7 separate regions of the Homo sapiens genome follow, and regions 2, 3, 4, 5, 6 and 7 are each linked to region 1. The links are contacts of gene promoters, found by promoter capture Hi-C in blood cells and fetal thymus (Javierre and others, 2016). All regions are on one chromosome and are shown on one strand. Each heading gives the region's core, a stretch centred on a gene start or on the middle of the fragment in contact. The rest is flanking DNA. Distances are from core to core; before and after follow the strand shown. Region 1 holds the start of RPE (ribulose-5-phosphate-3-epimerase). Region 2 holds the start of PLEKHM3 (pleckstrin homology domain containing M3). Region 3 has its middle 26 kb from the start of IDH1. Region 4 overlaps IDH1 (isocitrate dehydrogenase (NADP(+)) 1). Region 5 overlaps PIKFYVE (phosphoinositide kinase, FYVE-type zinc finger containing). Region 6 overlaps PIKFYVE (phosphoinositide kinase, FYVE-type zinc finger containing). Region 7 overlaps PIKFYVE (phosphoinositide kinase, FYVE-type zinc finger containing).

Region 1 (3,177 bases), core at 468-2,967:
ATTCACAAAAAAACTCCAGAACAGAAACAGTCAAGTGCTCATAAACATTGCTACTATGGTTATCATTAATAATCCTGACTGGTGAACCGAAACAATTACTTTCCCCAACCATTAACTTACTCAAACATAGTTTAATTAAAACCAAATTGCTCAAATAGACTCACAAATATACACATAGCTGTTCCATCCTGTGACCCTCTAGGTATTTTCTCAGGCACAAAAATGTAGCTACTTACCTTTGAGGTAGACACTCAGGGTATTATTACCTGTGACAGTTTAGGGCTTTCAAGCAAAGATGTCAAAAATAAAGTATATAAGTATAATTACATATAATGGCCAATTAAAAGCCAACCTTTGTGAGAGGTAATATTTACTAAACTTTTTACACATTTGGCCTATTATTTTTAGTACTCTATGGTCAAAGTTTTGTCATTATCAGTTGGGTGGACTCCTAAGGTAACTGGGTAAAATGCCAAAGAGAAACAATACATTTAACCACATAGAGCAATGGAAGATAAAACTCTTCAAAGCCAGATTAACATTAAAAAGAAAAGGAAATCATCACCTTTAGAAAATAACACCAATTTGCAAACTGAATGAGGGAACACAGGGTTTTTACCTATTTAAAATAAATTTATTTTTCCATCCCCACTCAAGATAATGGTATTTATGATTTTTATAGTCAGTTAACAGTGGGGCTCAGAGAACTACTTGGCAAACCTAGGAAGAGCCAAGTTGCAAGTCTGTCACAATCTTCTGTAATCTTGAGGGAGTCTTACTGCTTTCTCTGGGGTTGTTTCCTCATTCTGTAACCAACTTCAGAAACTAATATCCTGACTCCAAACAATATTATGTGCTGTAACTACGGTGCTTAAAAATTACTTACAAAAAACTGACCTCCCTGAAGAGCAGGGTGCCTGAAGAGAAAATAGACAGGAAAATCAGAATTGTAATAATGATGTAATTAACAATTATAGAGAACTTAATATACGCCAGGCACTGTAAACTTCTCATGTACTCGCTCATTTCATCTTCCAAGATGCCTAAGCGGTAGGTTCTGTTAGTAGTTCCATTTTTCAAATTATGAAACTGAAGCTCAATGAGGTTAGTGGCTTGTCCAAGGTAACCCAGCAAGTGGCAGAACTCGGGAACCTAACCGCAGGTGCCAACTTAAATCGTTAGAGAAGTCTGTTTCCCCAGCTTTGCCACTAACTAGCTATATGAGCTTGGGCAAGTCATGCTTCTCCCCTTGGGCCTCAGTTTCTCTAGCTGAAAGTGAAGAAATGTCCTAAAGATTTAGGTCGCTTCCGGGTCCTAAGTGATGGAAGACCACACGTTACGTGGGGGGAGGGGAGGAACTGAGGTTTGGGACCCGGCCGCAACCCAGGATACCGCGTCGGTTCTGCTCCTGCTAGAGCCTCCAGGGCTCCTACCCCACACCCCTTCTAGCATCGCGTTCAGAGTGAGGCGCTCGGTGGTACAGGGACGCGGTACATCCAACAAGCAGTCAATAAAGGTGCACTGATCCGCCCCGCCGCGCGGCAAGCCCGACCGGAGCCCGGAGGAGTTACCCGTCCATTACGTCCAGGTGCAGATAATCGGCCCCAGAGTCTAGCATCCGGAGGCACTCGGCCCCTAAATTGGCCAGGTCGCTGTTGAGGATGGACGGGCCAATCTTGCAGCCCGACGCCATACCGCTGGCTCCCAAAAGCAAGTTACCCACGAGTCCCCGGCAAGGCTAGAGCGTCACCCCGATTGGGCGCGCAGTTTTGGCCCCGCCCCTTCTCCGTACAGGCTTCCGGATTCTACCGGAAGCAGCCACTCTGCGGTGAGGAAGTCCCGCCTCCTCCTGGGGTGGGGCGCTGTCAGCCGTCCGCCTGGGGCGGGGCGGGGCACACGGGCCTCGTACACCTGATTTTGACCTTCCTTCTTGTGCTGTTTGGATCTTAACGTCCTCGCAGTACTCAAGGCGTTTCTTAACCTTTTTTCACTTTGCTTCTCCTGCAGTTCCCTCTCCTCGGCTCTTGACTTAACATCACTTTTTGTTTCTCCACCCTTTGCATATGCCTTTCTTTCCTCTCCAGCGCCTATGCTGGCCCTTTAAAACAACAATTAAAAACCTTTCTTCCTCGTATTTCTCCTAGAGCTCTTCTTTTGAGCTGGAGGAACCCTGGCTCTGCCAGATACTAGCTGGGTGACCTGGCAAATCACTTCTTAACTTCGGTTTTCTCATCTGTAAAGACAGTGCCCAGCTTTAGGGTTGTATTAAATGAGTGAAGCCAGGTAATGCGCCCAGCAGGATGCCTGGTGCTCAGTACAAAATGGTAGTTATTATTATATTACCCTCTTTTTCTGCCTTTGCAGTTCCTCCTTACCTTTTTTGTTTTTCCCTCTGTTGAGGCTCAGAAAATGATAGCCCAAAGTGAAGGCCTCAGACGCAACAGTGTTTCTCTGACTTCCTGCCCTGCTCTCTTCTCAGTCTCATTCTAGGAGGCAGGTCATAGAAACTGGAGCCCATCTTCCCTAAGAAGAGTCATTGAAACCGGAACCCCCTTTCCCTGAAGCCAGACACAAAACCCAAAAGCATTACTCTAACTTTCCTCCACCTTTCTGTGTAAAAACTGGCCATAAATTATTTGACCCATCTCAACTGTAGGTTATAAAACTCCTCTTCTAGAGAAGGTTCTATCCCATATCCAGGAGGAGGGAATGCTGCACAGAGAGGCCAGGAATCTAAACTAGACTGGCCAAGGCCAGGTCAGTCTATTAGCATTAGATCGCCTATTTTGTCCAATCGTATTTCTACATGGCTGTCTATACTTTGTTGAACCTAAGTATAAAAATGGGTAATCACCCCTGTACCTTTGGGTCTTCATTCTGAAGGCTCCTGTGTCAGGTAAAACTATAATCAAATAAGTTTTTATGCCTTTTCTCCTGTTAATCTTCTTTCTGTCAGTGATTTTCAGCAAACCTTTGGAGGGTGAAGGGAAAGTTTTCCCTTGGCCCCTACACCTCTCCAATGCTCATTCACAAATTGTGATAGGTTTGTGTGCTGTTCACACACAGTTCAGAAATGGATGAGTATCCTGATGCTAAATGTGCCTAGGGTCAGGAAAAGAGACAGAAGTAAAACCACTTGGCGGGGATAAATGGACTTAGCAAGAGCAATCCTTAAGG
Region 2 (3,177 bases), core at 453-2,952, 2.0 Mb after region 1:
CCACTGTGCCAGGCCAAAAGCAGTTTTTTAAATGCATTTTATGTCCCAGACTTCATGCTTAATCCATGAAAAACAATGACAAATCACAAACTCCTGACATCAGACTTCAAGACTAGTCTGAAAGAGTTTTTCTCAAAGGATGGTCCATGGATCACCAACTTGGGAAGCACTGAGGACCTTGTAGAAATTATGGAATTCAGGACCCTAATGTAGGTAGATCTTCAGAATAAAAATCTGTGAATGTGTGATCCAGGAATCTGCGGGGGTTTTTTTGTTTTTTGTTTTTGTTTTTGTTTTTTTTTTTGAGATGGAGTCTCACTCTGTCGCCCAGGCTGGAGTGCAATGGCATGATCTCGGCTCACTGCAACCTTTGCCTCCTGGGTTCAAGCAATTCTCCTGCCTCAGCCTCCCAAGTAGCTTGGACTACAGGCACCAGCCACCACATCCGGGTAATTTTTTGTATTTTTCGTAGAGACAGTGTTTCGCCATGTTGGCCAGGCTGGTCTCAAACTCCTGACCTCAGGTGATCCGGCCGCCTCAGCCTCCCAAAGTACTGGGATTACAGGCATGAGCCACCACACCCGGCCTAGGAATCTGCATTTTTAACAGCATTCAAGAACCTTGACACTCAAAATGCAGCATCACTTAGGAGATCATGACTGTTGGAGAGGCCCCATCCCAGACTTACTGTATCAGATTCTGCATTTTGACAGAATTCTTACCCGTTAAAGTTTGAGAAACACCATCCTAGAAGATTCTGTTCCATGTGAATTTTGAGAACCACCAATCCAATGGAAGACTGATCTGTGTAGCACAATGTAATGGGTACATTTATAAAGGAACACATGAGATCCTCTAGGAGTGCATAAAAGGAGCAGGTTCCCCTATCAGGCAAGGTTTCCAGAAGAGGTGTGATGTCATCTGCTTTTTTTTTTTTTTTGAGACAGCGTCTCGCTCTTTTGCACAGGCTGGAGTGCACTGGCTCAATATCAGCTCACTGCAACCTGCGTCTCCTGAGTCCAAACGATTCTAGTGCCTCAGCCTCCTAAGTAGCTGGGATTACAGGTCGTGTGCCACCATGCCTGGCTAATTTTCGTTTTAGTAGAGACAGGGTTTCACTATGTTGCCCAGGCTGGTCTCGAACTGCTGGCCTCAATCAATCCACCCGCCTCGACCTCCCAAAGTGCTGGGATTACAGGCGTGCACCGCCATGCTCTGCTAATTTTTGTATTTTTAGTAGAGATGAGGTTTTATCATGTTGGTCAGTCTGGTCTCGAACCGCTGGCCTCCAGCGATCCACCCGCCTTGGCCTCCCTAAGTGCGTGGATTACAGGCACGAGCTACCACACCCGGCCTTTTTTTTTTTTTTTTTTAGAGTGAAAGTTTATTAAAAAGCTTTAGAGTAGTAATGAAGGGAAGGAAAAGAAGAAAAGAACACTTGGAAGAAGACCAAGCAAGTGACTTGAGAGACCAAGCACCTGTTACCTGCTTCTTAAAGAGCAAAGAGAAATTAGCCAGCCTAAGTAAGAGGATGGGCCAGGAGTGAGAACTCTCATCAGAGGGAATCACATGTACAAAGTCCTGAGGCAAAAGAGAATACTGCAAATATTCTCTTTTGGTAATTAAAACAAAACAAAACAAAAAATGTACCTCTGGCCAGGTGAGGTGGCTCACACCTGTAATCCCAGCACTTTGGAAGGCAAGGAAGAAGGATTGCCTGAGGCCAGGAGTTCAGGATCATCCTGGGCAACACAGGGAGACCTTGCCTTTACAAAAAAAAAAAAAAGAGAAAGAAAGAAAAAAGAAGTTAGCCACGTTGTGGTGATGCGTGCCTGTAGTCCTAGCTACTCAGGAGGCTGAGTTGGGGGGATCCCTTGAACCCAGGAGTTCAGGGCTGCAGTGAGCTATGATCGTGCGACTGCACTCTGGCCGGGGCACAGAGTGAGATCCTGTCTCTAGCAAAACAGAAAAAAAAGTACCTCAAATTGCAGGGTTTAAAGAAAGCTTATTTAAACTTTGAATATCAACCAAAGGAAATTTTTTCTTAACTCAAAGCTTAAAGATTTGCTTATTAATCTTCTGGAGGGTGGGAAGGTGGGAAGAGGAATCAGAGTTTTAGATTTCTGTTTCATCCCTGACCCCTTTGACCTTTTTTTTTTTTTATCATTCCTTTGTTCATTCATTTATTCAGATATATATACATTGGGCCTGTGCTAGGTGCCTACTAGATGGTGGTGAGTGAAACTGAAATAGTGCCTGCCCTCAGGGAGTTTATAGGTGAGATGGGTGAGCGTGGGAAAACCAATAAAACTGATAAATAAGTGTGTACTTATAAAGTGAGAAAATGGCTAAGAAGTGTGCTATGATGGAAAACAGACAGGAAACTGCAAGGAAGGTCTGTCCAATCAGACCAGCATATCCCTGCAAAGCGACCACAGTCACTGCAGGTGGGATGTGGGCGGTCTTACCAGGCAGTCCTGCCCGCGTGCACACACACGCACACCCTATTTTGCTGGGAATCCGCAAGTGGGGGTGAAGACCTCACCTCAAAACCACCCCTTTTCAACCTGCGTAGGAAAGGACAGTGAAAACGGATTTTCACTGCAGCCCCAAAACCGGAAATGAGAAGCAATCTCCAGAATAGTCCCACTTTTGGAAAGAACTTATTTGAGTAATTAATTCCCTTAGACAAGGGAGCTGCTAAAAACCAGCCCGATCCTGACATGTTCTAAGTGACATTTTCCAATCGCAAACACCCATTTTGGCGTTGGGTGGAGCAGTGAGGAGACTCCACGACACACGCCATTGCTTTCACAATGTGTACAAGAGGAACTGTATATAAGAAAGCAAAGAAATAAGGAGGCCTGGCGGGTGCGGTCAGGCCTTGCCTAGCTGCCGGGTCCCTCGGGCAGGAAAGACTCGTCCTCGCGGCCTGGAACCTTGTGTGTCCGGCTCTGGCTGCCCGGGCCGCCGGCGGAAGCATTTCAGAGTGGGACCGCGAGAAGCCGCTTGTAAACAGAGCCGGGCCGGGATGGTCAGCGCCCGGGCGGGCTGTCACCGTGAGGCGGGCGGCAGGCTGCGGGAGTCAAGCCCCTCCAGGAGCGGACTGAAGGCCCCGCAGGTGAATGGAGAGTAGCAGCCGGGGCCCAGGTGAGCATCCGTCTGCTTCTGTGCTGC
Region 3 (3,177 bases), core at 416-2,915, 1.8 Mb after region 1:
AGCCTCCCTAGTAGCTGGGACAACAGGCATGCACCACCATGCCCAGCTAATTTTTGTGTTTTTTTGTTGAGATGGGGTTTCGCCACGTTGTCCATGCTGGTCTCGAACTCCTGGACTCAAGGGATCCACCTGCCTCAGCCTCCCAAAGTGCTGGGATTACAGGCGTGAGCCACTGTGCCCAGCCTGGACTCACAGATTCTTATTTTATTCAATGGACTGTAATTTACAGCCATCTTCATGTATTTTGATGCTTAGATTGTCTCAGATTTGGCCAGTGGGAATCCTATCAAGCTGGGTTGTCTCAGGATTGTAACATATTTTGCAAACAGTTAATTTGGGTATACTGTCTTGTATATTAAGCCACCTAGTAGTATGATTCACTTTTCTTAAGTGAGGCTTCCTCCGAGAAGAGCTTTCATGTGCGATGCTCCTTTTCTACCAATAGAATGTATTGGTCCACGCGTTCCTTTCCAGATCTAACCAGACAATGTCTCAGCAGAAAGTATTGTTGAAAGACCGCCTGTTTCAAGATGGATCTCCAGAGACTGGAGACTTACTTAACTTAAAAAACAAGTCTGGGGTAGAAGCAAAGGAAGGTACTAGGGTGCTAGGGTTGTCACCAGTTACTGACCTTTTGGAAAGATGGGGATATCGACTTTCAAATTCTATTATTGAGACTAAATTATGGAGTCCACACGATGGACTTTCAGGTAATAATGGGAACAGGGACAGAGTATGACTGGGATAGGCACATGAGGACTTCTAGGGCAGCTGGCTGTGTTCCATTTCTTTATACGGGTAATGATTACAAGAGTACCTTGTAATGGTTTACTACATTATACACTTGTTTTGTGTGGTTTACTGCATTCTTTTTTTTTTTTTTTTTTTTTTTTTTTTTGAGACGGAGTCTCGCTCTTTCACCTAGGCTGGAGTGCAGTGGCGTGATCTTGGCTCACTGCAAGCTCCGCCCCCCGGGGTTCATGCCATTCTCCTGCCTCAGCCTCCCGAGTAGCTGGGACGACAGGCGCCCGCCACCTCGCCCAGCTAATTTTTTGTATTTTCACTAGAGACGGGGTTTCACCGTGTTAGCCAGGATGGTCTCGATCTCCTGACCTCGTGATCCACCCACCTCGGCCTCCCAAAGTGCTGGGATTACAGGCGTGAGCCACCGCCCCCAGCCTGCATCCTTTTTTAATAATAAAAAGTTTTTAAAAGTGTATTAGGAAACCTGTTCTTAATCCCTTGGACTAATTGCATAGGACAACATTCTTCTGGAACAAATTCAAAAACTTTCTCTGCAGTGTAGGCTCACCCTCTTGACAAAGCCTCTTGGTTTGCCTTTGATAGATGACACAATTTCAAATCATCTTTAACCTTTCCAAATATAAGCTTATAAAGCCTCTCTCCAGGAAGGCGCTCTGCCCTGGAATTTTAACTGGACTATATACTAAGTATTATGAGTAAAGACATTTGAGGGTCTTTAGTGGGCTTTTTGGACCTACATTCCTTTACCTGGATGACTTCACGACACTTTCTTGTTAGGAGTATTTGGTTTTAAAGCTTTCATTTGATTTCTACATGAGAATTATCCTTTTCCTAGTTGGTCTTGCTTTGTTTTATTTGGAAAATAATGCTTTGCACATTATTTATATGCTCAGAGACTAACGTTCAAGACAGTCTAACTGAATCACATTTTCCTATGTTCTAGTCACTAAATTTTTACCAATTTCAAAATTTTCTCCTTTTTTTTTTTCCACTTCAGAAGCTTTTCAGTCATTTCCTACAGGGTTTAACTCTGAATTTTTTGAGTAAACTCCAAAATGTTTAAAATACGTGATTAAAAACTAACAACTTGCTGGGCGCGGTGGCTCATGCCTATAATCCCAGCAGTCTGGGAGGCTAAGGCGGGCGAATCACAAGGTCAGGAGTTCAAAACCAGCCTGGCCAATATGGTGAAACCTCGTCCCTACTAAATATACAAAAATTAGCTGGGCGTGGTGGCAGGCACCTGTAGTCCCAGCTACTTGGGAAGCTGAGGCAGAAGAATCGCTTGAACGTGGGAGGCAGAGGTTGCAGTGAGCCCAGATCACGCCACTTCACTCCAGCCTGGGTGACATAGCGAGACTCCATCTCAAAAAAAAAAAAAACAAAAAACAAAAAGCTAACAACTTAACTTTGACCCTGAAATATTATTCTAATATTCTAGAGCTATTCTTACCTATTTAAAATGTTCCATATTTCCTGGCTGCAGTAACTCCCTTTGTTAGAATTACTCAGCAAGTTTACTTTTCTTTTGATCATGTTTGTATTTTTATTGTTTGAAATACCCTGCTTGTTGGTGACTTATTTTTTACTGCAAATTAATTACCATGCTCTTGTTCTATTCCATGAAAACTTACAACTTGGAGCTCAGCCAGTGTTTTTAATCTGGCCTTTCCATCTGCATCTACTTCCTTACAGAAGGGTTTTTTTTCCTTTCTTTGATTTTTGAACCTAATTCATCCAACAAGTAGATTGGAGTATGTCTGCTAATCCTGACACTATCTTGGTAAATCAGTGTCCCATAGGACCCACAACCTCTAGGTGAGGGTACTTTTATAGGTCAGGCTACTGCAATTGTACCATTGCTGAGCGTCAGACAGCTTGGGTTTTGAGTCACTGGTTTTGTGACAGTGTTTCAGTATGATTCTTTACTATTATAATGGGAATGCTTTTCAGAACTTATTTGGAGTTAACTTGGGTCTCATTTTCTATGAACACATTCTTCAAATATCCTAAAGCTATGGCAAGATAAGCAACATCTTGATCTGTACAATTAGTACTTTAATTCTTGCCCTTTTCCACAGTTGTGATTACCTCATGTAGTTCAGCGGTATTGAAAGGTGACAGCGTGCTGGCAGCCCTTGCTTGCTCTCAGTGCCTCTTCGGCCTCAGCGTCCACTGGCCGCACTTGAGGAGCCCTTCAGCCCGCCGCTGCACTGTGGGACTCCCTCTCTGGGCTGGCCAAGGCCAGAGCCAGCTCCCTCTGCTTGCAGAGAGGTGTGGAGGGAGAGGCGCTGGCGGGAATCGGGGCTGCGTGTGGCGCTCATGGGCCAGTGCGAGTTCCGGGTGGGCGCAGGCTCCGTGGGCCCTACACTTGGAGCAGCCGGCCGGAGCCACTGGCCGAGGGCAGTGAGG
Region 4 (3,177 bases), core at 173-2,672, 1.8 Mb after region 1:
TTCTCTTTGTAGTTGGCACCCATCTTCTGTGTTTAGGGTGTGCCAGTGCTAAAACTTGGCAGATTTTGGTGTACTCAGAGCCTTCGCTTTCTGCATAATGAGCTCTATATGCCATCACTGCAGTTGTAGGTTATAACTATCCATTTGTCTGAAAAACTTTGCTTCTAATTTTTCTCTTTCAAGCTATGATTTAGGCATAGAGAATCGTGATGCCACCAACGACCAAGTCACCAAGGATGCTGCAGAAGCTATAAAGAAGCATAATGTTGGCGTCAAATGTGCCACTATCACTCCTGATGAGAAGAGGGTTGAGGAGTTCAAGTTGAAACAAATGTGGAAATCACCAAATGGCACCATACGAAATATTCTGGGTGGCACGGTCTTCAGAGAAGCCATTATCTGCAAAAATATCCCCCGGCTTGTGAGTGGATGGGTAAAACCTATCATCATAGGTCGTCATGCTTATGGGGATCAAGTAAGTCATGTTGGCAATAATGTGATTTTGCATGTTTTTTTTTTCATGGCCCAGAAATTTCCAACTTGTATGTGTTTTATTCTTATCTTTTGGTATCTACACCCATTAAGCAAGGTATGAAATTGAGAAATGCATATATGTATAACTGTATATTTACACACATTTAGCTAAAGGCAAATACAAATAAACTTACAAATAGGCGTCCATCTCAACACATTTTTTTTCAAACATGCTGTTTTTTTTCCTTTATCCTTTTATTCAGTTATACCATATGATATTGCCATTTTTATGTTGGTAATTTCATATGGTTCAACCAGATCTGTGGTTTTCAACACTGGCTGCACAATAGGATCCCCTTACAAGTTTTTTTGGTGGTTTTGTTTTGCTTTGCTTGATTTGTTTCTTTGTTTTAGTTTCAATGCTTGAGTACCACCCTACACAAATTAAAATCTGAATTCCATGGGGTTCAGGCATTTTAAAGCTCCCCAGGTGAATCTAATGTGCAAACTTGAGAACCACCAAAGATTGTATTAAACATGATCCCATCATGCATAAAAGAAAAAACTGGCTGGGTACTATGGTTCACACCTGTAATCCTAGCACTTTGGAGGCCAATTTGGAAGCACTGCTTGAGGCCAGGAGTTTGAGACTAGCCTGGACAACATAGCAGAACCCTGTCTCTACAAAAATGAAAAGTATTTCAATAATTATGTCAATTGTTCATGGAAGAGCCAGTTTTGTTTATTCATATACAAAGTGAGTAGGCGAAGCTGAGTGGGGTGGCATGTGCCTATAGTCCCAGCTACTTGGAAGGCTGAGGCCTGAGGATCCCTTAAGCCTAGGAGTTCAAGGTTACAGCTATGAGCTATGATCACACCACTGCCTACGCAACAGAGCAAGACCCTGTCTCGAAAAAGAAAAAGAAAAAAAAAACTGACTCGGTAGTTGAAAGCAGCCTTACTAAAGCATTCCTTCCTGCCTGGAAAAAAAGTATTGCTTCTTTACTTCTGTACCAGTACACTTGTTGCCAAATTAAGCAAAAAAACTGCCAAGTAAACAAAATCAAAGTTCAGTGTTGAAACTGAGGTTTCAGACTTTCACAGAAAGTAGTTTATGTCTTAAAAGGACCTTAAAAACAGGAATCTCTCATGCTGAAATCCAGAGGTTTTAATGTAGCCATCATTGAAAACAGTGTGTTGAGGGTAAACAGTTTAGTCCTTGAGGGGTCAGTTAACTTTGTTCCACTCTGTGGCTAAAACTATCCTTTCATCCTGGCCAAAGCCTTCAGAAATAGCTCCCAGGGGCCCAAGCAAGGGAAGGTAGATGGCAGTGGTGCAAACTCGCTAATCTTGTAAAAATCACCCTAGATTCTTTCCAGTTCAGTCGTGCCTTTTTTCTGCGTATATCCTTTTTGTTTTTTGTTTTTGAGACAGAGTCTCGCTCTGTCGCCCAGGCTGGAGTGCAGTGGTGTGATCTTGGCTCACTGCAACCTCTGCCTCCCGGGTTCAAGCAATTCTCCTGCCTCAGCCTCTTGAGTAGCTGGGATTACAGGCACATGCTACCATGCCCGGCTAATTTTTGTGTTTTTAGTAGAGACGGGGTTTCACCATGTTGGTCAGGCTGGTCTCAAACTCCTGACCTTGTGATCCGCCCGCCTCCGCCTCCGCCTCCCAAAGTGCTGGGATTACAGGCATGCCACCATGCCCGGCCTTCCTCTTTTTTTTTTTTTTTTTAATTATTTTGGCATCAGTCATTTGTAAAAATGGCCATTCTATTTATTAAAGTCCAGAAAGAGAATTTCAAACCTCAGGTTGATTCATGGACTGTTTAAATATACATAAACCTATACAAAGCATTTATGGTGCTTTGGTACCTCAGTTTCTCCCTTTTCAGAAATAGTAATAAATTACCACCCATATTTACTTTATGGATTTTATATGTCAAAAATGTTCTGTGTAAAGTAGGTGTTTAATCTTTATTGTTACTTACTGCTCTTTTACCAGTTGTTATTAGTATTTCTCTACACTTATAGATGTGGCCGGCACCTGCTGGTACCTAACTCTGCAAGTATCTGATTCAATTCATTGAAGAAGATACAATGCAGCAAAGACTTATGGATGTCTAGTATATGCCAGGCATATTATTCCACTGAGTAGCTGAGGCCCATGAGGGAGGTGCCTGTCCTTGAACAGCCCTTTCCTAAAAATCATCATCATCCCATTGTAGCTGCTCCCAGAATGATTTGATTGCTCCATATGAACAAGTCCTATAACACTAGTAACAATGATACCATGAGAGACCGAGCCCCGATGGCCTAAGTAAGGACGAGACCTCAAGTCCTTTGACCCTGGATGCATTATTTCTACTATATCATAGTTCCCTCCTTGTAAGACTGATGTAAGAATCAAATGAGATTATGCAAGTTAAGCATTTAAAGCATCTGGCATAGAGTAAGGACAAAGCATTAGCTACCTCAGTACTACAATTAGTATTGTTATCATCACCCTCTAGGGAGACTTCCCTGACTTCCTTCCATGGTCACCTCTTTTCCTCTGTCATCCTATAGTTTTTTTTTTTTTGGGGGGGGGGTCTAATACCCTCTTTTGGCATTTGAAAGCTCTTATATTGCTTTTCACTTATATATGTCTTTATAGGGTTGTAAACTTCCTAAAGGAAAGTGGCTTATGTTATTCTCTGTCCTC
Region 5 (3,177 bases), core at 379-2,878, 1.7 Mb after region 1:
ATGTACCACTGTTACAATTTCCTAAATTTGTTATGTAAGAGAACATGATTGTTCTGAGGAAAAACACTTAAGTATTCAAAAGTAAAAAATAGAACTTTCTACTTCTGGTCTAGCACGTGAGCATCTTCACTCCATCTCAACAACTAAAACCTGAACAAAGAGAAAAATCATCAACTGTTCTTAGGTCCATCAGAGAAGTCAGGTCACAAGCCAAATCCTGCTCCAAATACTGCAGACAGACAAGCAGATACAGAGGATCACAACTCACTGGAGCAGAAACCTCCATGGGAACCAGTAATAGGGTAGGAAAACCTAAAATCAAATTGACAAATTCCTTGAAGCTCAGTGTAGACAAACCAGAGATACAAATTCTAGGTGAACCCAGTCATGGGGGTAGTGGGGATGCTTTTGGGAGTTTCACTTCCAGATCTACCACGTCCTCACAGTGAATGTCAGAAAAATTCCCTCCGGCTTCTGGCTTCCAGCAGAGGGAGAGAATAAAGAACTTAAAAATACGTCAGAGCATTCTGTTCTTCATAACAAGTCCTGCCCTGAGGAGAAACTATTTTACCAGAGCCTAACCTGCTGGAGTTATATCAGAGCTTAACCTACCCAGGGAGAAGGAAATCCCCAACCACAGCCCCTTCTAGCCTTCCACATGGGGGAAGAAAAATCCCCAACTCCAGCCCCCTCCAGCCATTCTGTCTCACCTAAGGGGAAAAAAACGAAAAGCCCTGATAAAGTTTACAGTTCAGGGGCACAGGCTCACCTGTGACAGTGATTCACAGGACTAGAGACCACTTAACCTCCCCCTACATCCTATCACTACATCACTAAAGGCCTATTTACCATAGTTCCTTTTACCCAGTACAGCATGTCCACCTTTCAACAAAAAATCACAAGGCATAATGAAAGCCAAAAAACACAGTTCAAAGACACTGAACAAGCATCCGAAACAGGCTCAACATGAATGTGGGAATTATCAGTCTAGGAATTGTTTTTAAACTATAATTAATATGCTAAGGGTGTTAATGCGAAAAGTAAACAACAGGCAAGAACAGATAATATAAGCAGAGAGATGGATATTCTAAGAAAGAAGCAAAAAGGAAATGCAAGAGATCAAAAACACCATAACATTAAAGAAGAGTGCCTTTGATGGACTCTTAGTAGACTAGACAGAGGTAAGGAAAGAATCTTTGAACTTGAGGCTATCTCAACGGAAACTGCCAAAACTGAAAAGCAAATAGAAAAAAGACTGAACAAACAATATCCAAGAAATGTGGGACAACTACAAAAGGTATAATATAAATGTAATGGGAATACCGAAAAAAGAAGAAAGAGAGAAAGGAACACAAGCAATATTTGAAGCCATAATCACTGAGAATTTCCCACAAATTAATGTCAGATGCCAAGCCACAGGTCCAGGAAGCTCAGAGAACACAAGCGTGGATAAATGTCAAAAAAACTACACATAGGCAAAACTAAGTGTATTCAAATGGCAGAAAGTCAAAAATAAAGAAAAAGATCTTGAAAAAGACCACCTTAAAGACCAAGCATGGTGGCTCACACCTGTAATCCCTGCACTTTGGGAAGCCAAAGCAAGAGGATCGCTTGAGGCCAGGAGTTTGAGACCAGCCTGGGCAACACAGCAAGACCCCATCTCTATTTAAAGAAAAAAAAAAAAAAACCTTACCTGTAGAGTATCAAAGATAATAAATACATCTGACTTCTCCTCAGAAGCCACGCAAGCAAAAAGAATGAAATGAAATATTTAAGATGTTGAGAGAAAAAAGCCATCAACCTACAATTCTGTACCCTGATGATACCCTTCAAAAGTGAAGGAGAAGTAAAGCCTTTCTTAGACAAATGAAAACTGAGGGAATTTTTTGCCAGTAGACCTGCCTTGCAAAAAATGCTGAAAAGGCAGAGAGAAGGAATATGATATAGGTCAGAAACTTACATCTATTAATACACAAAGAAAAGCATCAAAGAAGGAATAAGTTAAAGTAAAAACTTTTCTTTTTCTTACTCTTAGTTGATGTAACAGATAACTATTTCTTCAAAATAATAGCAACAATATATTCAATTATGTATGTACGCATGCTTATATGTAAGTGAAATGAATGCCAGTAATACAACAGATGGGAGGGAAAAATTGGGAGTATTTTGTTATAAGGTATTTGCATTACCTGTGAAGTAGTATAGTATTATTTGAAAGTAAATGTGGATTAGTTGTAAGTTACATTGCAAACTCTAGGGCAATCATTAAAAAAAAAAAAAGAATGTAACTCGTATCCTTTAAAAAGGAGAGAAAATGGAATAACATAAAATGCTCAATTAAATACATAAAGGTGGAAAAGGTACAGAAGACAAAAACAGGAAGAACAAGGGCAACAAGTAGAAAACAGTAACAAATACGGCAGGGATTACTCTAACTACATCAGTAATCACCTTAAATGTCAATAGTCTAAATACACCAACTAAAAGACAGAGATGGTTAGAATGGATCAAAACCAAGACCCAAAAATACATTGTCTACAAGAAACCTAATTTAAATACAAAGACACATACAGATTAAAAAATAAGTGAAGGGTCAAAATGTCACTATTTACCCCATAAATATGCACAATTATTATGTGTCAATTTTAAAAATTAATTTTTAAATTTTTAAATGAAATCAAAACAGGATACATGAACAAAAGGAAATAGATGGAGAAAGATAAACCATGTTAACGCTAATAAAAAAAAGAGCAGGAGTAACTATATTAATTTTCAGGCAGAACAGACTTCAGAGCAATCAAAGATAAAAAGGGAAATTACATAATGATAAAGAAATCAATATTCCAAAAGACAGAACAATCCTTAATATGTATGCTCGCTCCTAACAACAGAGTACCAAAATATATGAGGCAAAAACTGATAGAACTACAGGAGAAATGGACGAATTCATTATTATAGCTGGAGACTTTAACCCCTCTATCAGAGATGGATACATCCAGCAGAGAGAAAATCAATAACAACATAGCTGAACTCAACAACACCATTAATCAGGTGGATATAATGAATATCTTATAGACTGTTTAATTCAACAACAGAATGCACATTCCTCTCAAGTAACATGGAACATTCACCAAAACACACCACATTCTGGGCCATAAAACACACCATAAAAAATTT
Region 6 (3,177 bases), core at 358-2,857, 1.7 Mb after region 1:
TATGTTCACTAAATAACTGTTGAATAATCTGACCAAATAAGTGGAAAGAAAAGAAGTGGGAAATGCTTACAAAAATTCTCTAACCTGTCCCCTCTTAAAAGCAAAACAAACAAACAAAAAAACTTCCACCAAACAGCCCAGCAGATTACACAGTAAAGTATATGTCCATGACATGTGAAGTACAAGAATTGCACATTTCAATTACATAAAGGGCCACTCTGTAAACTTCTAGCCGAACCAGATGCTTGGAGATGAATTTAGAAGCACTGCCAAGCTATCAGATAAGCTGCAGTGGCTCCTTGTACCCGCTTGCCTTCTCTCTTTGATCTGAAACCGTGGGAGCCAAGAAGGAAGAGAAATTTTCTCCCATTATCTGAGGCCTAACCAGTGGAGTACTATGGACTAAGAATGTCTTTACTCTAGGAAGCTAAGCTAAGCTAAGTAGGGAAGGAATAGGAGAAGGCTAATCTCCTTTTGTGTCCAAAAGAAATTTATCATCAGAGTTAGTTCTTTAACCTCTACTGCCTGCTTCTCTTCCTCACTCCACAGGGCAAGCAGCATCCTTAACTGGAGATCTGCCTGTGGGCTTTTTGACAAATTTGACAATCCTTGATGATATTTATATCAATACTTAATATTATATTCACAATACAGTTAAGTGTAAACTATGTCTTTAAAAGAATTAAGTTCAAATTCTACTTAAAAGTTTTTAAACAATTACTTTTCACATCAGAGACCTCCTTCTCGCAAACCAAGTCCAAGTTTACATTCTTGGTTCTCAACATTCTCTAAATCATTATATATATTAAAAACTGTGTTCCCATGATACCACCATAATCAAATATATTTTCAGCACCTTCTCTGTGCTAATCAATGTGCTAAGCCCTAAGTATATCCTCATGAAAAAAAGAGACACCATTCCACATACAGCTTTTTATAAAATTACCTTTGATGAAAGCGTCACTTATTGAGAGCTGTTGTCCTCCAGTGTCAGAAATCAAATACTCTGCATACCAGGGAGACAACAGAGAGGAGGAACAAAAGTAGAGACATATGACTATAACATGTCAGCATAATTATATAGAGAATACGCCCACACACAAAATATTACTCATACTAAACCCATCACTGCCCGGCAAATTCAAGAAAGCTTTGGGTAAAAATGCCTCTTTATACTTGTTCTATGCACTTCATACTAAACTTAAGCAGACTTGCATTAATAACACAATAGAGCCGTGAAAACAATTCTCCTTAATTCAAATGTCAGATAGAGAAATGTTTTTCTCTTACCAAAACCAACCGGTTTATGAAAATTAAATCTTCAGATACTTGTACGACCATCCTAAAAGATTACAGTTCTTTTCACATGTAACTTGATGATTTAACAAATAATCACTTTGCCTATGCACAAAGCAGTTCATACAGAACCCACCTGATAAAACAATATAAACTTTTTTCAAATTTCAGAATATAAGCTATAAAACAAATTAATACAGAAGTGACATTGGCAGGAATAAAGATAAAACTCATCAGTATTTGTATTAGTTCCAAATAAGTGTTTTTGTTTTTCAAAAATTATATCAAACACTGCCAAATTTTTGCTAGACATTAACTGAACACACTCTGAATGCTTTTAATATATTAAATACTTTTCTTACAAGTGAAACTTACTCTTTACTTCCCCGTGAACTTTCTCTAGGTCTGTGACCAAGCATAGCTCAAATGAGGTTCTTTCCACTATGCAAATTAAAACATGATGCATGTAAACTCCTTTACGGTAAAGGATCTCCACAAAATTTTCTCCAAGTACATTTATAAACAACTGGGCTTTAAAAGTTACTATGTTTATAAGCCAATATGCTCATCCTTCCAACCAGGAAACAAAGAAAATATTTTATTTAGAAAGTTCAAGTGCACTATGCCAAATACAATAAAATCGAGTATGTGGGCAAGATAGATGTTACACTTTATTTCTACTCTTCCCTCACAGGAATGAGTAACACCAAATCCTATTAGTTCAATTAATGTATTGTTCTTTACCAGCCTTCTCACACTAAAGCTTAATTGTATCTATATGAGACTCCAGAAATGGTGGATTTTCCCCATTTAGTTATGAAAAAAATTCAAACCTACAGAAAATGCTGTATACCATCCACCTGAGTTCAACAATTGTTAAGGATTTGCCATATATGTGTATGTTTCTTCCCCCCGATCATTCAAAGTTACACACATCATGACACTTTACCACTAGGACATCAGCACAACTCTCATAAAAATAAAGGTATTCTTCTCTATAGCCACAAAATTATTTACATATTTGAGAAAATTAACAATGTCTTAATAGCACAGAATTAGCCCATACTCAAGTTTATCCAACTGTCTCCAAAATGTTTTTAATCCACAGTTTTTCTTCTTAAGCCTCGATGCAATCAAGTTCACACATGGCATTTGGTTCCTGTATCTCTTCATTCTCTTTTAATCTAGAACAGATCTCCTGTCTTTTTTTCTTTTCATAACATGAATTTAAAAGAACCCAGGTCAAATGTTCTGTGCAATGTCCCACATTCGGAGTACAATCCATTGTTTTCTCATGGTGTGTTTAACTTGCTCCTCTATCCCATGTTTTCCTATACACGGAAAACTACATCTAGAGATTTACGGAAGCCGTGATTTTCACCTTCTTCTCTAGGTTTTACTTGCTAACTTTCCAAGAATAGTTCAGAATCCTGCTTGTAATACATAATAAAATATATTTTAACTGTACAATTCTCCAAGACCAATAATGAAAAATTAAGCCAGTTTTACGAGCTTCTGAAAATAGGGTTTTCTCACTTCAGACAGAAAGCATAAGTAGTATTTTTTAAAGTACAGATATTTCAACCAATTTTATAAATCCAATTTTCCTCAGCCTGAAACAATATAGGACAATCCATAAGAAAATATTTAATAAGTACTACCTTTAATTTCAATGTAAAGATAAAAACCATTCCCATTTGTATTTATACAAAGGGAATGAAAACCAGAGGCAAAAGAATTCTATTATTTTTTCACGTAACTACCAGTCTCCCTGGAAATCTTTATTTTCTGATAATCAGTGTTCATCTTGACTATAACACTCAGCAAACTATTACGCTTCAACTTCACAAGAAAAAATGTAAAAAGAATAACTCGTTAGTA
Region 7 (3,177 bases), core at 354-2,853, 1.7 Mb after region 1:
TAAAGTGCCAGTTTCTAACTTTTTATCTAACCTATAAATGCTCACAAGACAGTTTGGCTATATAACTGTTGAAATCCACATCTTATTCAAGCCTTGACCTATATATAAACTCCCAGAGATAATTCCCATGGGTTCTGCCACTCCCAAGTCTTCCTGCTGAAGCTATACTACTAGAAGAACCCATGAGCTCACTGCTGGAAATAAGTGTTTCAGTTATCCAAAATTAAAACACAGAATATGTTCTGGCATGGAGACAGTGCCCCCAAACAAGAAGTTATGTTCCATAGTACTTTTAAAACTAAAGGTGAACATGTAATGTAAGGCTATGTATGTCTGTGTGAGGTTTTTGTGACAATAATTTGAAAAAAATAATTTAAAACATAAAATGTATTTCAGTTTCTATCAATCTACTTAAGTTTTAGACTAAAACCCATTAATAAAGCAAAAGGTTGACTGCTTTTATAAAAATTATGCCTGAAGGAAAACCTGCCTAAATTGTACATGCTATCATCAAAATGCTTATAAACAAGCTTTTTGTGTGTCAACTTTCTCACATTTTTAAGTACAGGTTGGGCATCCCTAATCTGAAAATCCAAAATCCAAAATGCTCCAAAATCTGAAACTTTTGAGTCCTGATATGGTACCACAAGAGGGAAATTCCACAACTGAAACCTTTGCTTTCTGGTGGTTCAATGTATACAAACTTTGTTTTATACATAAAATTATTACAAATCTTATATAAAATTAACTTCAGGCTACGTGTACAAGGTGTATATGAAACACAAATGAATTTCATGTTTAGACTTGGGTCCCATCCCCAAGATAACTCATTAAGTATATGCAAGTATTTCCAAATTTGAAAAAATATTAAATCCAAAACACTTCTGGTCCCAAGCATTTCAGATAAGGGAAAGTCAACCAATACAAATTCCTCTTCTATCCCTCACACTTTTTTCACTCTTAATATACTCTCATTTACTTCTACTCATGAACAAACATGTATTTTCATATTTACTTCACAAGTTTAAAAGTTCTATCAATTCATATATGACCAGCAGTGTGCTGTGTACCTAAATACAGGTCCTAATGACTGTTTTTTTGTTTTTGTTTTTTTTTAATTGCTGGAATTCTGTTCTTATGTGGAATAGTGTAGGGGGAAAAGAATCCTACCAAGGACTGACACAGGCACTAGGAGCATTGCTGGACTGGGCAGAAGAGCTGCTGAAGAGCACACAAAGTCTCTGGTGATTAATGGGATTCAGACAGTCCACCTGAAATAGAAGGAATGAATGGATGAGCAAGTGACTGCAACCGCATTCAACCCCAATGCACCAAACACACTCCACTCTATTTGTAAAGCCTCCAATTATCACTGTGGGGGCTCTGGTCAAGATTTAAAACTACAGAAAACTAAATATAAGGAAGGGCAGTTGGTTTTTGAGAAAAGACAACCCAAAAAGTTTCAATTAAACTTAAAAATACAAAACAATGTCTAGATAGCTTGTTTTCTTAACTTACTCTTTATTTTACACAACTGCACTAAATTATTTTGGAAAAAAATTAATTAAATATACCCATATTTAACAGTCTGAACTGATGGGATATAACATCAATCTGAGACACCCAGAAATCTAAATTCTAAAGTGTTTATTTATCTATGCTTATGGCTGTTTTTGATCATTACAAAGGTAAAACCAGCTCTCTGTTAAAATTGAAACAGTATAGAAGCATATGAAGAAGTTCATAAAATACACAAAACTGCTCCTCCTGATTCTACTCCACCTCCTAAGCTGCGGAGTTTGACTCTGTGGTTTTAAAATATCTATTCTTTTTGCTAGTTTACATACCTGTCCCACATACACACATCACTTCCTAAGTACAAACAGGGGGTTTTGTTTTTATAAATATGGAATAATGCAACACATATTAAAACATAATTTGCTTTTTAACACTTCAAATATATCATGGGCTTTATCCAAGTCATTAAATGACTTGAGATCCTGCTCATCCTTAAACTGTTTCAATAAACATCTTTGTACATATATTCTTAAAAAATGCAAGCACCCTTATATAAGCATACTTAATTATTTCTGCAGGATAGATTATAAAAAGTTGGAGTCCTGGGTCAAAGGTATATACATGTATGTGTAAATTAATGGAGACTTTCCTATCACTTTCTATAAATTTATACAAATGTACATATACCTACATTTGTATAAACTTACATAAAATTTATGAAAGGTGTTTTTCCATGCCATCATTAACCATGGGTCTTTTACGACTTTCCTTTTTGTCAATCTGACAAATAAAAAATTATTTAGCACCACTATTATTTAGCACTTCCTTGACTACTAGTGAAATTGAACATACATTATTTAGCACTTCCTTGACTACTGGCGAAATTGGACATCTTCTCGTTTTATTAAACAATTGCATTTCCTCATCTAGCAATGGATTTGTTAATTAGTTTTATTGCTACCATTATCAATAATGGATCTATAAACCTTCCTTAATTTGCTCTCAATTTATGCCTAAAAAGAAAAAGATCACTGTCATAGTTAAATAACAAGGTAAAATGTTTTATGTTAAAAAAAGAGCTAACTTTTTTTGAGAAAACAAATATATTTGCTGCTAACTTTTTTAAAAAAACACATCTATTTCCTACAATAAGCTTCCATCTCTCACTCCCTGACACAAGGATCCAGGATTATCATACCACATCCAAGTCATGTTGTCAGAAATTTTAAGCAGCTCCACATTTCCCCTTACTTCAGGGATCTTCCTAGCTTATTATAAGCTCACCTTAAAACCCTGAAACCCAGTTTCATTACAATTCTGCTTCATACATATTAAAGTAACACATAAGCCAGCAGACTCAAGACAAAAACAAAAATAGCATAGGAGAAGAAATATTTCACAAATCTGCATGCAGTCTGCCAAACTGATTTTTTTAGCCTGCCTTTGAGGAGTCATTCAACACATCCTAAATGCACAGGAGCATCAGAAAGTGGTCTGGCTCACCTTTGTTGACCACACAGCATCACTCAGAATAAGCCCTCTCTCTTCATCACCCTCATTTTTGCTTCCTGATTGGCCACTTGAAGTACTTGATGCATCCTTTGAATGAGCAAAAGGGTCTGAATTTTTGGGCTGAATTCTTCCTCCTCTGGCTCGATA

Evidence for each region. Contacts are between HindIII fragments. The CHiCAGO score rates a contact against its expected background, and 5 or more counts as called.
Region 2: a contact is called between a fragment that was not itself captured here and the fragment with the promoter of RPE in region 1, in 1 of 17 cell types (total CD4 T cells). The highest score is 7.8, in total CD4 T cells.
Region 3: a fragment that was not itself captured here is called in contact with the fragment with the promoter of RPE in region 1 in 1 of 17 cell types (non-activated CD4 T cells); the score reaches 5.1 in non-activated CD4 T cells.
Region 4: a fragment that was not itself captured here is called in contact with the fragment with the promoter of RPE in region 1 in 4 of 17 cell types (neutrophils, M2 macrophages, fetal thymus and 1 more); the score reaches 8.5 in neutrophils.
Region 5: a contact is called between a fragment that was not itself captured here and the fragment with the promoter of RPE in region 1, in 4 of 17 cell types (erythroblasts, monocytes, total CD8 T cells and 1 more). The highest score is 8.9, in erythroblasts.
Region 6: a fragment that was not itself captured here is called in contact with the fragment with the promoter of RPE in region 1 in 7 of 17 cell types (M0 macrophages, M1 macrophages, M2 macrophages and 4 more); the score reaches 13.4 in M0 macrophages.
Region 7: a contact is called between a fragment that was not itself captured here and the fragment with the promoter of RPE in region 1, in 4 of 17 cell types (M0 macrophages, M1 macrophages, M2 macrophages and 1 more). The highest score is 8.5, in M0 macrophages.

What each region holds. Positions count from the first base shown.
Region 1 is chr2:210,001,178-210,004,354 of GRCh38, reverse strand. It overlaps RPE (ribulose-5-phosphate-3-epimerase), which reads right to left and starts at 1,717. Exons shown (of 6, transcript NM_199229.3): 1 at 1,572-1,717. The coding sequence starts at 1,693. RefSeq lists enhancers at 1,449-1,618, 1,659-1,708. The HindIII fragment of the contact is 5,690 bases long and covers 1-3,177 here.
Region 2 is chr2:208,025,362-208,028,538 of GRCh38, reverse strand. PLEKHM3 (pleckstrin homology domain containing M3) reads left to right here and starts at 3,012. Exons shown (of 8, transcript NM_001080475.3): 1 at 3,012-3,150. The HindIII fragment of the contact is 609 bases long and covers 1,398-2,006 here.
Region 3 is chr2:208,227,937-208,231,113 of GRCh38, reverse strand. No RefSeq gene overlaps it. Among named protein-coding and RNA genes, the nearest start is that of IDH1, 26 kb to the left of the region's middle. The HindIII fragment of the contact is 205 bases long and covers 1,563-1,767 here.
Region 4 is chr2:208,245,667-208,248,843 of GRCh38, reverse strand. IDH1 (isocitrate dehydrogenase (NADP(+)) 1) reads left to right here. Exons shown (of 10, transcript NM_005896.4): 4 at 184-475. Among named protein-coding and RNA genes, the nearest start is that of IDH1, 7.8 kb to the left of the region's middle. The HindIII fragment of the contact is 4,254 bases long and covers 1-3,177 here.
Region 5 is chr2:208,292,186-208,295,362 of GRCh38, reverse strand. All of the region lies in intron 7 of PIKFYVE (phosphoinositide kinase, FYVE-type zinc finger containing), which reads right to left. Among named protein-coding and RNA genes, the nearest start is that of PIKFYVE, 28 kb to the right of the region's middle. The HindIII fragment of the contact is 3,704 bases long and covers 1-3,177 here.
Region 6 is chr2:208,310,065-208,313,241 of GRCh38, reverse strand. PIKFYVE (phosphoinositide kinase, FYVE-type zinc finger containing) reads right to left here. Exons shown (of 42, transcript NM_015040.4): 13 at 947-1,006. Among named protein-coding and RNA genes, the nearest start is that of PIKFYVE, 45 kb to the right of the region's middle. The HindIII fragment of the contact is 909 bases long and covers 1,153-2,061 here.
Region 7 is chr2:208,326,274-208,329,450 of GRCh38, reverse strand. PIKFYVE (phosphoinositide kinase, FYVE-type zinc finger containing) reads right to left here. Exons shown (of 42, transcript NM_015040.4): 20 at 3,022-3,177; 21 at 1,171-1,271. Among named protein-coding and RNA genes, the nearest start is that of PIKFYVE, 62 kb to the right of the region's middle. The HindIII fragment of the contact is 2,141 bases long and covers 533-2,673 here.